2 separate regions of the Homo sapiens genome follow, and region 1 is linked to region 2. Evidence: promoter capture Hi-C in 16 types of primary human blood cells and fetal thymus (Javierre and others, 2016). All regions are on one chromosome and are shown on one strand. Each heading gives the region's core, a stretch centred on a gene start or on the middle of the fragment in contact. The rest is flanking DNA. Distances are from core to core; before and after follow the strand shown.

Region 1 (6,886 bases), core at 2,223-4,722, 2.0 Mb after region 2:
CCCTTTCCATGAGGGCTGAGGGATTCTCATCTGGCTTGTGGTCTATTGTGGACAACTTAGAGTAATTAAGTGGTTTGCCCCTAGTTCTTCTAAGGCCCTCTAACACACACATTAAAAGGCGTTTCCTTTTCCATTAGTCTATGGGGTCACAGGGAGTCCAATCAGGATCGTCAAGAGGTATAGCCTCTCTTCATATTGGGAATGGTTGTTCTGTTATTTCCTCACCTTCTATATCTCCCCTTTTCCTTTTTGGCCTACTATAAGAGATATGTTTTTCATCTCCGAACTTCTCTGCTGCCTGCAGAGTGCCACTTTTTCAGCTGCAGTGAGGGTTTGGCTTAGAAACAGCATAACATCCCTCCACGTGAGGTCAAACACTTGAGTTAAATTTTAGAAGGCCTCTATATTCCTATCAGGGTCATCAGAAAATTGGCCCAAGTCTCCCTTTATTTGCCTAAGGTCCTGTAATGAGAAGGGAACTTGCACCCTAGTGGTGCCCATTCCATCTGGCATTTTTTGTAGGGGTCAGAGTGAAGATGGGGCAGTGGAGAGCTTTGGAGATGGGGGAGCTGGAGGAGCCAGAGGAGCCAATGGCACAGTCACAGGGCATCCTGGATAAGGGGGACAGGAAGAACTGGTGGGGCACTTAGAAGTTGCCTCCAATGGCTCCTTAAAAACTTGCTTTTCTGACTTAGTCTACTCTCTACAGACTTGCCCAATATGGCCATCAAGAGGGCTTAGTCGATTGTGCAATGCTTGCAAAGGTCTGAGTTGTCTCTCAAGGCAAAGAAAGCCTGTACATAGAGGAGCTTGGGCCACTTGCCCTCCCATCTACAAACAAGGTCTAATTGTTGGATAAGATTAAAACCAAGGCTCCTTCAGCTGGCCAGGTCTGTTCATTTCCAAGATAGTAAGAAGGCCACGCCCTTGTGCAAAGGAAAATGAGCCACTTTTTCTTCAAAGTCTCAAGGTCAAAGGAGTTCCAGTGCTTCAGAATGTACTCCAGAGGAGTGCAGGCCAAAGATGGCTTGTTATCCATTTAGAAAAGAGACAAGAGGCATCCCTCAGTCTCCTTGTTCTTTTCAGTGTGACCCAGGGTGGAGGGGAAAGACAGTGGGAGCATCACCCCAACTGTTCTCCCTCCTTGGTTCCTGGGTCCTGGCACTGTAGTGCCACCCATAGTTGCAGGTATGACCCTCAAACCATGGTACCACAGAACTAAGCAATGGGGCTAGTCACACTACTAGCCCATGTGACCTTAGTCCTCTGCTTGGTGATTACCCTTTGACCTCCTAGACTTGTGTGGTCTGCATGACTCCTTGATGGATGGGTCTCGAGAGAGACTATGTAACAATTGCATTTGGGCAAGACCCCTTAATGGAGGGAGTATACTGGATTGAGCTTTATAATCTGCTCTTATGGACCAGATTAGAGAATTTATTCTTAGGTAGTGGTTCCAGTTAACTTCGAGACACAAAATCCCCTTTCTATTTAGATGCCATTCTAGTTGTAGGCAGAATAGGTGTCTTAAGAGAACATAAAGGTCAAATGGTAGCCTTTCTGCTAATGGAGAGAGTATTGAGATTAAAATGTGGTTTTGGAGGACATTTTTCTCCTCACTGCTGAAAGCAGAGTTCTCCCGCTTGCAGAGGGGGCAAAAAGTTTGGTCTCTAGCAGAGGGAAGCAAAACAGAAAAGAACTGGAAAATCTCCCTGTCTGTAGAAAATCACAAAAAGAGCAATCCTTTGATCTGCATTCCTGGTTTCTAAGGTGGTTGCTAAGCCTGCCTAATTGAATTTTTTCCAGGGCTGTAAAAACTCCTGCTGCATTGCATACAGAGAGGAAATGGGAGACATGGTGACAGTGGAAAGGAAAGGAGGAAAGTATAATGTGCAGTAGGAAAGCTTGGAGATCCTGTAGCTGACACCTGATTGGGCAGTTGGGGGCTGGGGACAGTCCAGAAGCCTTTAGATAGCACCAGGGTATAGCCCTGACCAGACAGAAATTTTCAGTTGCTCCAGGACCTCTCCCAGCCCCACAGGATGGCCAGGTTCTCCATGAAAGGAAACTGGTTTGGAACAGGGCCAACATTCCCAGCACCCCGAAGACACTGGGAGATTGACTAAGTCCTCCCCAGCAAGCCTCTCCTTTGAGTCTTCAAGAGCAGCAACTTGCCCTGGTGGCTCCTTAATCAGCTGTCAAATGCCTGGGTTTTTGATAGTTGAGAGAATAAAAACTGAGGATGAGAAGCCTCGGAAATTAAAGTATAGAGTCCGCTCCTATACTCATCCTGCCGATAAATTTACCTTCAAATCCCGGATGGGTCCCCAAGTATAAAATGGCCTCATCGTCTGGGGTAAATACCAAGGTTCTTGGTCTCACAGCTGAGGAAATCAAGAACATGAACACATAACCACAGAGAGTGAGACTGGAGCAGGAGTTTATTCGGCAAAAGAAAAGAACAGCTCTCGGTCACGGAGAGGGGTCCCAAACAGGTTGCCAAGTTGTAGTAAAAAATGTCAGTTTTTTATAAATGGGCTAGTAAGGAGGGTGTGACTTATCTTCCTAGGGCCCGAACAAATGGTTAGGACCAGGTGTGCTATCTGCATAGAGCAGGGTCTCTATCAGCCCCCACCCCATTCTTTGATCATGTGGGTACACTCTTAGTTTATGCTGCTCTGTGCTGTTTGTGTGTGCTAAAAGGGAGGGAAGAGTGTCTGTGCCTATTCCCAGGCACCTTCTTGCAGCTGCAGGTATCTCACCTGTGCCTACTTCCAGCTTCCCTGTCTTAGTATGCCTAAAGAAAGAGAAAGAGATATGCTTATGAAGGCCCACTGTTTTTACTGGGACCCATTGTATGTATGTGAAGTTTGGTGATTACCCAGGAAACTCCCCACTCTGTGCCTTAGTTGCTTATATGTGTTTTACAGCCTGAGCGTCCAGGCTGCTCTTTGTTAGAAAGGAAGTGATTTCTTTGAACTGATTGAGGTTAAAAAGGGAGCTATTTCTGAGCTGCTTTTTGTTAGAAGGAAAGTTTTCTGCCTGGGACTCACCCTAACTCTCTACCTAAATAATTTCTATCTCCTATAACACAAAGATACTGGACCAAGTATGCTCAGTTCCTTTTCCCAAGATCACCAGTCAGATGTCACTCTCTTATCTGATAAGTCACTCTCTTACAAGCTGAGTGTGAGAGGAGACTAGGTGGCAAGAGATGCCTAGTCTCTAATCTATAATTTCTGTCCATACTCTCAAATGAGTCCAGTAGAGTTTCAGTCCATTTTGAGTTAAAATAGCACTTATACCTCTCTTTTCCCTACTACACTAGTTGGCAATGCAAACATATGACCTTGACTTAAATTAGTGCTACAATATATAAATAGGAATAGCAACTCACCCAAACAGTCACATAACCTGCTTTTAATCATTTTGTGATATATATTAGAAAATCTCATCATTTTTATCTAGCAAGTGCATTGTAGGTTTCTGGAAATGTAAATGTGTCTATTCATGTATTTTTAAACATTGAAATAGACTAAGATCAATCAGTGACATTTATAGAAATAATTTAAGTTTTACGTGCTCCCTTTGAAATGTAATATGCCATTTAAATTGTAATTTAATTCAAGGTAAATTCTCTCATAACGTTAATAGTGACCCTGTAAGCTACACAGTCTTCCAAGGTGTTTTTTTGGATTTAGTCTTAGGTTAAAGACTTCAGGCTAAGTTTAGCAACTGTTAGAAATAATGCGGTTGAGAGGAAGGCTGTGGAAGTAGGTAAATTCAGGACATTCTGAAACAAGCACTTAGAAAAATTACCATTTGTGAAACACTGACCTACTTCAAAGCTAGGCATAGGTACCACTATCATTATGTTGAAACACAGAAACATTTCCACCACACAAACAAAAGACTTTTATTTAAAAACAGTAGCCTTTCTTAGATATCATCAGATTAATTTAAATTGAAAGAATAACAGATATTATCTGTTAAGTCATATTCCTTACTCTGATTGTCCCATTGAGCTTTATTCTTTCTTTCTTTCATTCATCCATTCAAAAATCCTTATAGGATTTATTCTGTTTCCAGGCACTTAGAGAAACAGCTGTGAATTAGACAAAGATCCTGGGCACCTGAGACTTAATTTTATGAAAAAACAGACAATAAAGAAGTAAATAAATATAATTTCATGTGAAGATAAATACTATTTAAATAAAAACAGTGAGCTATAAGCTAGGAAGTGATTGGTATTGAGGGGTGCACTTAGATTGGGTGGTCTGGAAAGCTCTCTCTTAGGTGTAGTGTTTGAGTAGAACCATAAATGAGTAAAAAGGCCACGTTAATATGAAGAGAAGAGAGAACAGAAAAGTGAAAATGTCACACGTGAAGAATTAACTTGGTGAGTTGAAGGGAGATCAAGACCAGTGCTCATGTGAAACAAGGGTGGGGAAGACGGTAGGAGATAGAAACTGGAGAGGTAAGTAGTGGCCAGATCAGGTAGACTGTTGAAAGCCAAAGCAGGGAGTCTGAATTTTATTCTAAGTGTGCTTACAAATATTTAGAGTTTATAAATAATTAAGCAGGAAATTACAATGATCTTATTTATTATCCCCTGTGAAGGTCTCCTGTTTTCTCAGATTAACAAATTCATGGTTCTCTTTAAAAGTCCAGCTCAAGTATCACACGCATTGTAAAGCCTTTTGTCATTGTCAGTGAGGCAGTGGTTGGGTGGTCCTGTTTAACCAGCTTTCCTAGAGGTGACTTCTCCCATTCAGTTCTATTCAAGTCAAAGATGAGTCTTAGAGACTGTCTCATGCTTTAGTAGTTTATTCTGGCATCGCTCTTAAAAGATAGTGGGAAGAGGCTGGGGGTATAGACCAGATAGTCAGGGCTCGGATGATCAAGAGAGCCTCCAACCAGAGACTGTTCTCAGTGTTGGGGGTTTCTTCCCCCTTTTTAAAACCTGTATTCAGCTTGGTCAGTTATCAGATGTTTCTCTCATAAATGGAGTCGAAGCTATTCTTACAAGGGTAAGCTTTAAGGTTCATGAAAGTTGCATCTGTGCTGAAGTGGCCTGGTCTCCTGGAAATCACTGGGCCAGGGGTGGAAATCTCCAGGGCCAGTTAGTATTATATTGATAAATACATTTAGTGTCAGCCCCTCAAGACACTTGAGTGAGCCTTATGGCTATAATTACTCTTATAGCCACGATATATCTCTTATAGTACATTTTCCTTAATTTTCCAAGTATCTTCTCTGTCTTTAGTTTTCCCATTTCATACATTCTTGCATTTACATGGTACATTTCTCTACTATAGTACCTTCTGCTTGTTTTCAACTTGTCTGTTCTACTGAACTGTTAACTCCATAAGGGTAGGGACTGTGTTTATCTTCCTGTATGCATAGTTTATAATGCAGTGCACAGCATATCGTAATGTTAAGAAAATGATTACTGAATGAACAAATGAGTATTTCAATTATCCCATAACTTAGGCTTCTGGTCTTAACCTTTCTGTCAAATTCCAGTTTCTTATTTTTAAATGCCTATTTACATTTTTAATTGTCTAGTTTTTCTTCAGACTCAACTTCACATACCCACATCTCTTTCCAACTTCTCCGTTTAATTAATTAATTAATTAATTTGAGAGGGAGTTTCCCTCTTGTTGCCTAGGCTGGAGTGCAATGGTGCAATCTTGGCTCACTGCAGCCTTTGCCTCCTGAGTTCAAGCGATTCTCCTGCCTCAGCCTCCCAAGTAGCTGGGATTACAGGTGCCCACCACCATGCCCAGCTAAGTTTTTGTATTTTTAGAAGAGATGGGTTTTCGTCATGTTGGCCAGGCTGGTCTCAAACTCCCGGCCTCAGGTGATCTGCCTACCTCAGCCTCCCAAAATGCTGGAATTACAGGCGTGAGGCCCTGCGACTGGCCAACTTCTCCGTTTTTATTGGTAATACCAACTTCTTTCTAATTTCCTTGACCAGAAATTTTAGAGTACTTTTATTCTTCCCCTGATGCTGGGGATGTCCTTTACTCTATTTCATTGACTGTAAGCCTAGTTCAGACTTTTATCACCTAATTCCTGGAAAAATGCAACAAAGTGGCTGGCTGGGGAATAATTCTGGCTCAAACGTCTTCCCTTCTCAAATCTGTACTGCATGTCTTTGCAAGATCATTGTTAATTAAATATTTTATTCGTGAGTTCATGCATTGTTCCATTTTCCAAGTATTTTTGCACACTGAATGTATGACATGCCACTCCCTTATATAAAGCCTTACTTAGTGCTCACATGAACTAAATGAGATAGTATTTTTATCTCCATTTTACAGATAAGGAAATTAGGATTTAGATTAACTGCCCAAAGTCAGTAACACCAAACACAAAATGGTAGAGCTGAGGCCTGAACACAGGTCTTTTTAGTTGAAAACTCTGAGCTCTGCTTAATCATTGTGCTAGTAAGTTCGTATCCCAAGTTTAAAGTCCTTCTTCACTTTGGAGGATTTCCATGAAATAGCCTACCAATCCTACTTCCCATTTCTGCTGCACTTGGATTTTCTATTTCATATTTCAAATATTTTTCTAGTTATCTCCTGTGCATTGCCCTTCTCTACTTCAAGTAGATTGTAAGCTTCTTAAAACCTTACTCTTATTACACTTGCCTTGCATTTCTATGAAGATCTACTGTTGTAGATGACACACTAAATTCTCAGTGAATAATTTATAAAATCTTTAGCACAGTCCTTGGCACATATGCATGTTTAACAAATGGTATCAATGATTATTATTACTACACAGGGACTGATGCCTCAAACTGAAGACCTAATAGGAAACCAGAAAATTCTGATCTCTTCCTCAGTCCTAAGAACTCTGCTTGCTTTCTCCACAATTT
Region 2 (7,005 bases), core at 3,853-6,352:
GTTGACAAGACTAAGTGAGATTAAGTGATAAAGTATGCAAATCACATTTAGCAACCTAAAAACCAGAGTAGGAAAACAAGAAAAAGAGCTATCATAAAAAGCAGGGGCTTGTTTTTCAAGGTAAAATCAGAGAATGGAACTGGTCAAAGGAATATTTTAGCAAATGCCAATAGTCTGAAATGTAAGAAAGTACAGTGCGTAACACACAAAAAGTTACGGACCCACTCACTGCAGCAATTATCTCATCAGGGGAAGAATTCAAGAATGCCTTTGTGCTTGCTATTCTCTCTCCCTGGAATGCTATTCCCCCTCTGGATTGTGCTAAAATATCACCTCGTCAAAGACACCCTGACCCTATCTGAACTATTATTCTTATTATTCTCTACCCTTTTATCCTGCTTCATTTTTGTTTACTGTAATACTACTAACAATATTACATATTTGTTTGCTATTAGTTTCAATCATAGGAAAAGGAACTTTGTTTTCTGAGATATCCCCAAAATCTGGCCATAGTAGGCACTCAATAAATATAAATTAAAAACTCAAACTACCTCATCATAAAGAGTAAATGCATTTGGATTTGGTAGAACACTACAGAAATGCAACATAAAGTGAATTTCCTTCTCTGGATCACCTTGAAAAAACCTGCCTGATCTTAAGAAAGAAGTTCAGTGGTCTTCATAAGCACTACTAGTGTAAATCCGTAACAGCCATAGATGAGTAAACTTACAGTCACCTTCAGAAAAGCACATTTACTAATAGTTACTGCATGCCTACCATGTACATCAGAAACAAAAGGTTTGGGGCATTTTGCAGGGAGTAGGTGGAGTGATTTCCCAGCATCAGAAATTTTTTAAACTACTACATAAATGCTACCTATTTCCAGAATTCACTTCTCAAGTTCCCAAATGCACCTCAAAGTTGTCTCTATATGTAACACTTCCTTCAACACACATTGATCCACATGTCTTCTTTCACCATTACCTTGTTTGTGGGCCATTATTACTCCTAAATATTTTAAATGTCTTTGTCTATCACTGGGGAGATTCACCTGTGATATGAGAGATGCCCAATGTACATTTAGTTAAACAAAAATAAGAATACACTCCAATGCACTATAACAGACAAACAAATGAATACTGGGTATCCTGTAGCAAGGTTCCAAATTCACAGCAATTGAATCTTAGAAAGAACATTAAAGGTCATCCGGTCCAGCGGACTGCAAATGTCAGGCTTCAGTGAACTTTTTACTGATCTATGTCAAAATGAGGACAATGTAATAAGTTTTCATAAGGCTAAGTTTTTTAAATTTAAAGACAATCCTTTAGTCAGATTATATTCTTCCTTATATTTGAGGAAGGATACTAAAATGTTTTTTTCTTTCATAAAAAGATGGTGATAGTTGATCATTGTTGTTTCATAAATAATTCTTTTACTTAGCAAAACAAAAAACTTAGCAATTGTTAGACTTCAATTGTTTTTTTCTTTTTTTAATTTTACAGGTCAGTTAAATTCAAAAATGTGAGAACCTCTGCTCTAATCCAACCAATTTTCTGCTGCCTAAATGCCTTAGAACATGGTCAACAAGTTGTTTTTCTGCCTATGCATGACCACCTCTGACGACAAGTCTCTAGTAATGTGGAACCATCAACTGAAAAAAGATATGGTTCTATCTGAGGGATGTTTGCTTAGTTTTGTGAAGGAAAAGCAAAAAAATCAAGGCTTACAGAGAGTAAGCCGACTTGTGAAAATGGAGCCAGTAAAAAAACAAGTGCCAAGAAGACTGATCAGTAAGAGAAGATCAGAGGGATGCACTCAGGCCTATACCTCACAGTCTTCCTTCAACTTATTATGAAAATCCTTTATACAAATAACTATAAAAGCCAGACTGTAAAATACATTCCTGAGGTCAGGGCTGGTCAATTTACATTTCCTTTTGCACATCTCAGTTTACCATCTGAAATTCCTTTACTAATCTACATCTAAACTACATCTCTCAATTTACTACCTGAAATTCCTTTACTAAGCTACATCTTTTAGTTACACATCTTTCAGGTTTGATCAGAAGCAAATGTAACACAGTCTCAATATCACCCAGACCCAGAATGCAACAGAATCTAAATGCCACATATACTCAAGTATGCAAAAAACAATAAGCACAAATATATAGTCCAACGACAATTTTTAATTATATGAGAATTAAAAAGGATGAAAGTTGGAGGCAAGGAATAGAAAAAGCACAAAAGATCAAAAGCTAATTTCAAGGAGTCCATCCTGAAGGAACCAGGAATGGTGGGTACAGATGCCTGACCTCCCTCCAAGACAATGTGCCAACAGGCCAGTGGAGAACAAGGTGGGATCTGAGAACAATGTAAATTTGGATGTTAAAAGAGAACACAAGCAAAAGCACCACGCACAGTGCCAGGCAGAGACAGGCATTCAAATATTTGCACATTGAATGAATTAATAAACAGACACTTACACAAAGAGAATCTGGGGCCGTGCTTCCAACCATACCATAAGGCACTTTAAGTCCAGGTCATCTTTCTTTGACTTAAAGCTCAGGCTAAAAATCTAACTTCATGAAAAGCTGAGTCTTCCTAATAGTTTCCACTGGCCTCTGTTCTAGCCCAGCTCTGGCAGTGAGGCCCGGTAAAGTTCCTTCCTAAAGACACTGCCTGCAAGTCTCAAATCCGGCACACGGGATCCATGGTGGAGGGATGTTAATGGGAGTGGAGGCAAACAGGCCAAGGGGTGGCAAGGAAAAAAACTATTTCTGATCCACAGAATGGCAAATAACACCATAACGAGTTCTTGAATTAGGTTTAATCCTGGACAGAACCAAATGAAAATAAAAACCTACTTGTATTTATAATTAAATAGACAGAAACAATGAAAAAGTCTCACCAACTTTAGCCACCCCTGATTGAAAGGAGTTTTAACAATTCTTTCATCCATGCTGGCATTCCAAGTTTTCCATTATATCTCAGCCTCTCATTGTTCCAGCACTATTGATGGAATCTCAATGCCAAAAATGGCGCTGGTCATCAAAATTATGATTAGCTGATCTACCCTAGAGTCAGTTTATCAATGTTTCAATGCATACATCAATTCTATTTTTTATTATTTCAATTTAAATCATCTGTGTCTCTATTCCCTCCCTCCCTCCAGAGGCTGCTTTCCCACACCCTTCTTTTCACCTGCATTCTAAGTATTCCCTTGTTCTTTCCTTTAGCTCCCTCTGTTCCAAAAGTAAAAACGAACTGCAGGAACTTATGTAGAAGGCAGGTTTACTACAGATAGCATACCTACATGTTACATATTATATACCATATGTTGGCTAAATACAGCTAGCATATCCTGCTTTAAGTGCTTCTGAGCCTGGGCAGACCCCCGTGTGCTCATGCTGCTGATGTGAACCATCCACCATCATATTTCCTAGGGGTTCAGGTGCCTTCCTCCAGCCTGCTGAAGAACATGACCAAATCTCAGAGCCCTCAAAGCCACAGCTATCGAGAGGTGACTAAGCCCCTGCTTCTGTCAGCCCAGGAAGGCCAATTCAAGAGTCTTATCTACCCCCTAGATTTCCACGACCTGTTCCACTCAAGCTAAAAATTCTGAAACGCACTTTTAGAAACTGTCGTTCCAGAATCCCATTAGCTCTCCTAAAAGGGCTGAACATCAAAAAATTATTCAACCCAAGCCAAGTATCCTTATTTTGGCTGGAATTCTGCCAAATAACCACAAGAGACTGGTGCGGTACAATCGGCATGGAGTGAAGCTTGCCAAATTTGACCGGAGAACGACAAGCCTCCATGAATAAGCTCTCATGAAAAGGTAAACCATTCTTCAGGATGAGGTTTGTCTGCGATTTGAAAAGTCAGATTCAAAGGACTCTTGTTCCTTCCTAAGAGAAGAGGGAACCAAAATTGAAATTTTCGAAACTCCTGGGTATTTACAGTTCACTTTTACCAAGATGTTTTTAAAACTAAAAACTAAAATTTAAAAAAAAAACCCTTGTTCTGAATAATGCAATAATGTCTTCTACATAATGTTTCAGCTATTATTTCTAGAAAGTAATTCTGTTGCCAGTGATCTTGAATGTACTTGGGTACCAAAGAAAAAAGACACCTGTGCCTGGCAGGTCGATACGCTACTAATTTGCCCGAGGTACGAACGAAACAGAAGATGCTGATTTCTGGATAAAACGTTCTGCAGTGCCAGGTAAAAGAGGTCACATGCCCTGAACGGCCGCCGCTCATTTAGAGTGATGCAAAAGCTCCTCAGATATTAATTTTGTTAGAAATTCGGGGAATCAAGCAACCTAAGATCAATTCATTTAGACAGCGGGTGACTGGTACTTTCCAGTTTCCTTTTTTCAACGGACTCAGTGCATCCTAGCCTGATCTCTTATAAAGGGGTAGGCAAACTCGGCACCAGGTGCCCATGCATTTCAGGGAGGTACACACAGGACCTGCAGGGTCACCCATGCACAGCCCCACCCCGAATCTTCTATCCGCCCGAGATGGGGAAGACCCTTCCCCAGAAATCCTGGGCAGCGTTTTAAGTCACCGCCTGGCCAGGCTGAGTTTCCGTCCGCGTCCGCTCAGGACTGCGGGCACAGCGCCTCGTCACGCCCCGCATCTCCCACCTCCCGCCGGCCCCGGCGGCTGTCCCCAGAGCTGCGCCCGCGGCCGGCGACACGCGCCGCAGCGGCGCGCTTATCCGCAGCGGCGCAGCCCGCCCGCCCGCTCACTCACGCGGGAGGCAGCGGCGGCGTCTCCATTGTGGCTCCTCTCGGGCTTCAGAACGCAGGCACCGACCAACACAGCCAGCACCATTCCAGCCGCGGACGCCGGCACTGCCCGCCCGCCGAGCCGCGTTCCATCCGCCCCGGAGGGGGCGCCGCGCTCTCCTCACCGCGCGCCACCACCTGCGGCGGCGGCCCCCGCGGCCATGGCCCGCTCGGCCGGGCGCGCTCCGTCTACTGCGCGGCTCCCGCGCTCGCCCGAGTGCGGGGCGGCGGCGACGGGACCGGCGGGCGCGCGGGCTCGGCCACTTCCGGGTTCGGCCCCGGCCGGCGCCGACGCTGTGACGGGACTGCGATGCGGCCTCCCGCGGCGGCCGAGTACCCCTCCCTCGGCGCCTCCCCTTCCTCCTGCTGCTGCTGCTGCCGCTGCCGCTGCCGCTTCTGCTTCTGGAGGCGGGCGGGCGGGCGCCAGCCGGGTGCGGGGCGGGCGTGCCCAGACGCTGGCCCGCAGGCCGGGACGCGGGCGGCGGCCGCCCACAGCGGGTCTCTGGATCGCCGGGACGGGGGCGCTGGAAAATGGGAGCGGAGGGGGTTCTCCGTGCAGAAAAAGGGCGGCCGAACGCACGGCGTAATAATGCTCGGTATCCACTTGCTGCTCTGCTTCGCGGGCGTGTACACGTTATTCTTTTCATTTGTGCCTGTACCCAGGGAGATGGGAAGGGTAGGCATAACCAACCAGTGTCCTTACAAAGGGTGGCACTGAGGCAAGAAGAAGTGATTTGCCTGTCCAGTGTCCCAGGCAGGAAGCAGGCTCTCCCTCCTCAGTATGCTAGCCATTCCTTGGACAAGTGAAGTGAGCACCTGCTAAGCAAGGTTTTAGTGCTGCGGCTGTGACAGCAAAACCAAGTCTTTCTGCTTGTGGAGCTGTCCATCTAGACGGGGTGACGGAAACAGTAAGTGATGCTTACCATGAAGAAACATAAATGAGGATGAGGAGAGGGAAAGAGATTTTAGAAAGAGTGGTCAGAGAAGGCCTCTCAAAAGGCATGAGTTAAAGAGATGGAATAACAGGGGCTTTGAGTAATGCAAAGAATGCCTAGGGCAGAGGGAAGAGCAGCGTGGAGACTGCTAAGCAAGATCCTGCCTGCCTTGTTGAGGAACGGGAAGGAGAACAGTGCAGCTGGTGGTTCTCCAAGTATGCCCGCTGGAAGCAGTAGCACCTGCGAACTTGTTAGAGATGCGAATTTTCCAGTCCCACTTTAGCCCTACTGAACCAGAAACTCTGGGGGTGGGGCCCAGCAGCGTGTGCTTTAACAAGCTTTCCAGATGATGCTTGCTGGGGCCGCGAGGGTGGGAGACCCTCTAATGAAGCAGAGTGAGGTCAGGAGGACGGCGGCAGGAATGGGTGTGGCGAGGAGTAATCACAGATCACCCAGGCCTTGCAGGCCGTGATAAAGGACTTGGCTTTTACTGAGATTAGAAGCAATTAGAAAGTGGTGAGTAGCTTGATCTGATCATTAAAAGGATGACTTTTCTGGGATTTGTTTGAAAATATCCCACAAAAAGAAGGACAGAGGTCGGGCGCCGTGGCTCACGCCTGTAATCCCAGCACTTTGGGAGGCCGAGGCGGGCCGATCACCTGAGGTCGGGAGTTCGAGATCCGCCTGACCAACATGGAGAAACCCCGTCTCTACTAAAAATACAAAAAATTAGCCGGGCATGGTGGTGCATGCCTGTAATTCCAGCTACTCGGGAGGCTGAGGCAGGAGAATCGCTTGAACTAGGGAGGCAGAGGTTGCGATGAGCCGAGATCGTGCCATTGCACTCCAGCCCGGTCAACAAGAGCGAAACAAACTCCGTCTCAAAAAAAAAAAAAAAAAGGACAGAGAAGTGAATAGATGAATATTTGCAAAATGTTAATTTTTGAGGCTAAGTGTTGGGTGCATAGGGGTGGTCATCATTTATGTGTGTTTATGTGTATGTTTTAAAAGATAATAATGGGCCGGGCGCGGTGGCTCACGCCTGTAATCCCAGCACTTTTTGGGAGGCCGAGGCGGGCGGATCATCTGAGGTCAGGAGTTCAAGACCAGCCTGTCCAACATGGCGAAATCCCGTCTCTTCTAAAAATAGCCGGGTGTGGTGGTGGGTGCCTGTAATCCCAGCTACTGAGGAGGCTGAGGCAGGAGAATCACTCGAACCCAGGAGGCGGAGGTTGCAGTGAGCCGAGATCGGGCCACTGCACTCCAGCCCAGGCA

What was found. Contacts are between HindIII fragments. The CHiCAGO score rates a contact against its expected background, and 5 or more counts as called.
Region 1: a contact is called between a fragment that was not itself captured here and the fragment with the promoter of KLHL2 in region 2, in 4 of 17 cell types (naive CD8 T cells, activated CD4 T cells, monocytes and 1 more). The highest score is 9.7, in naive CD8 T cells.

The regions. Positions count from the first base shown.
Region 1 is chr4:163,167,779-163,174,664 of GRCh38, reverse strand. It overlaps LOC105377517 (a long non-coding RNA gene), which reads right to left and starts at 2,389. Exons shown (of 3, transcript XR_939414.2): 1 at 2,307-2,389. The HindIII fragment of the contact is 3,131 bases long and covers 1,907-5,037 here.
Region 2 is chr4:165,205,658-165,212,662 of GRCh38, reverse strand. KLHL2 (kelch like family member 2) reads right to left here and starts at 5,102. Exons shown (of 15, transcript NM_007246.4): 1 at 4,761-5,102. The coding sequence starts at 4,786. RefSeq lists a silencer at 4,801-5,450 and an enhancer at 4,981-5,481. The HindIII fragment of the contact is 2,287 bases long and covers 3,784-6,070 here.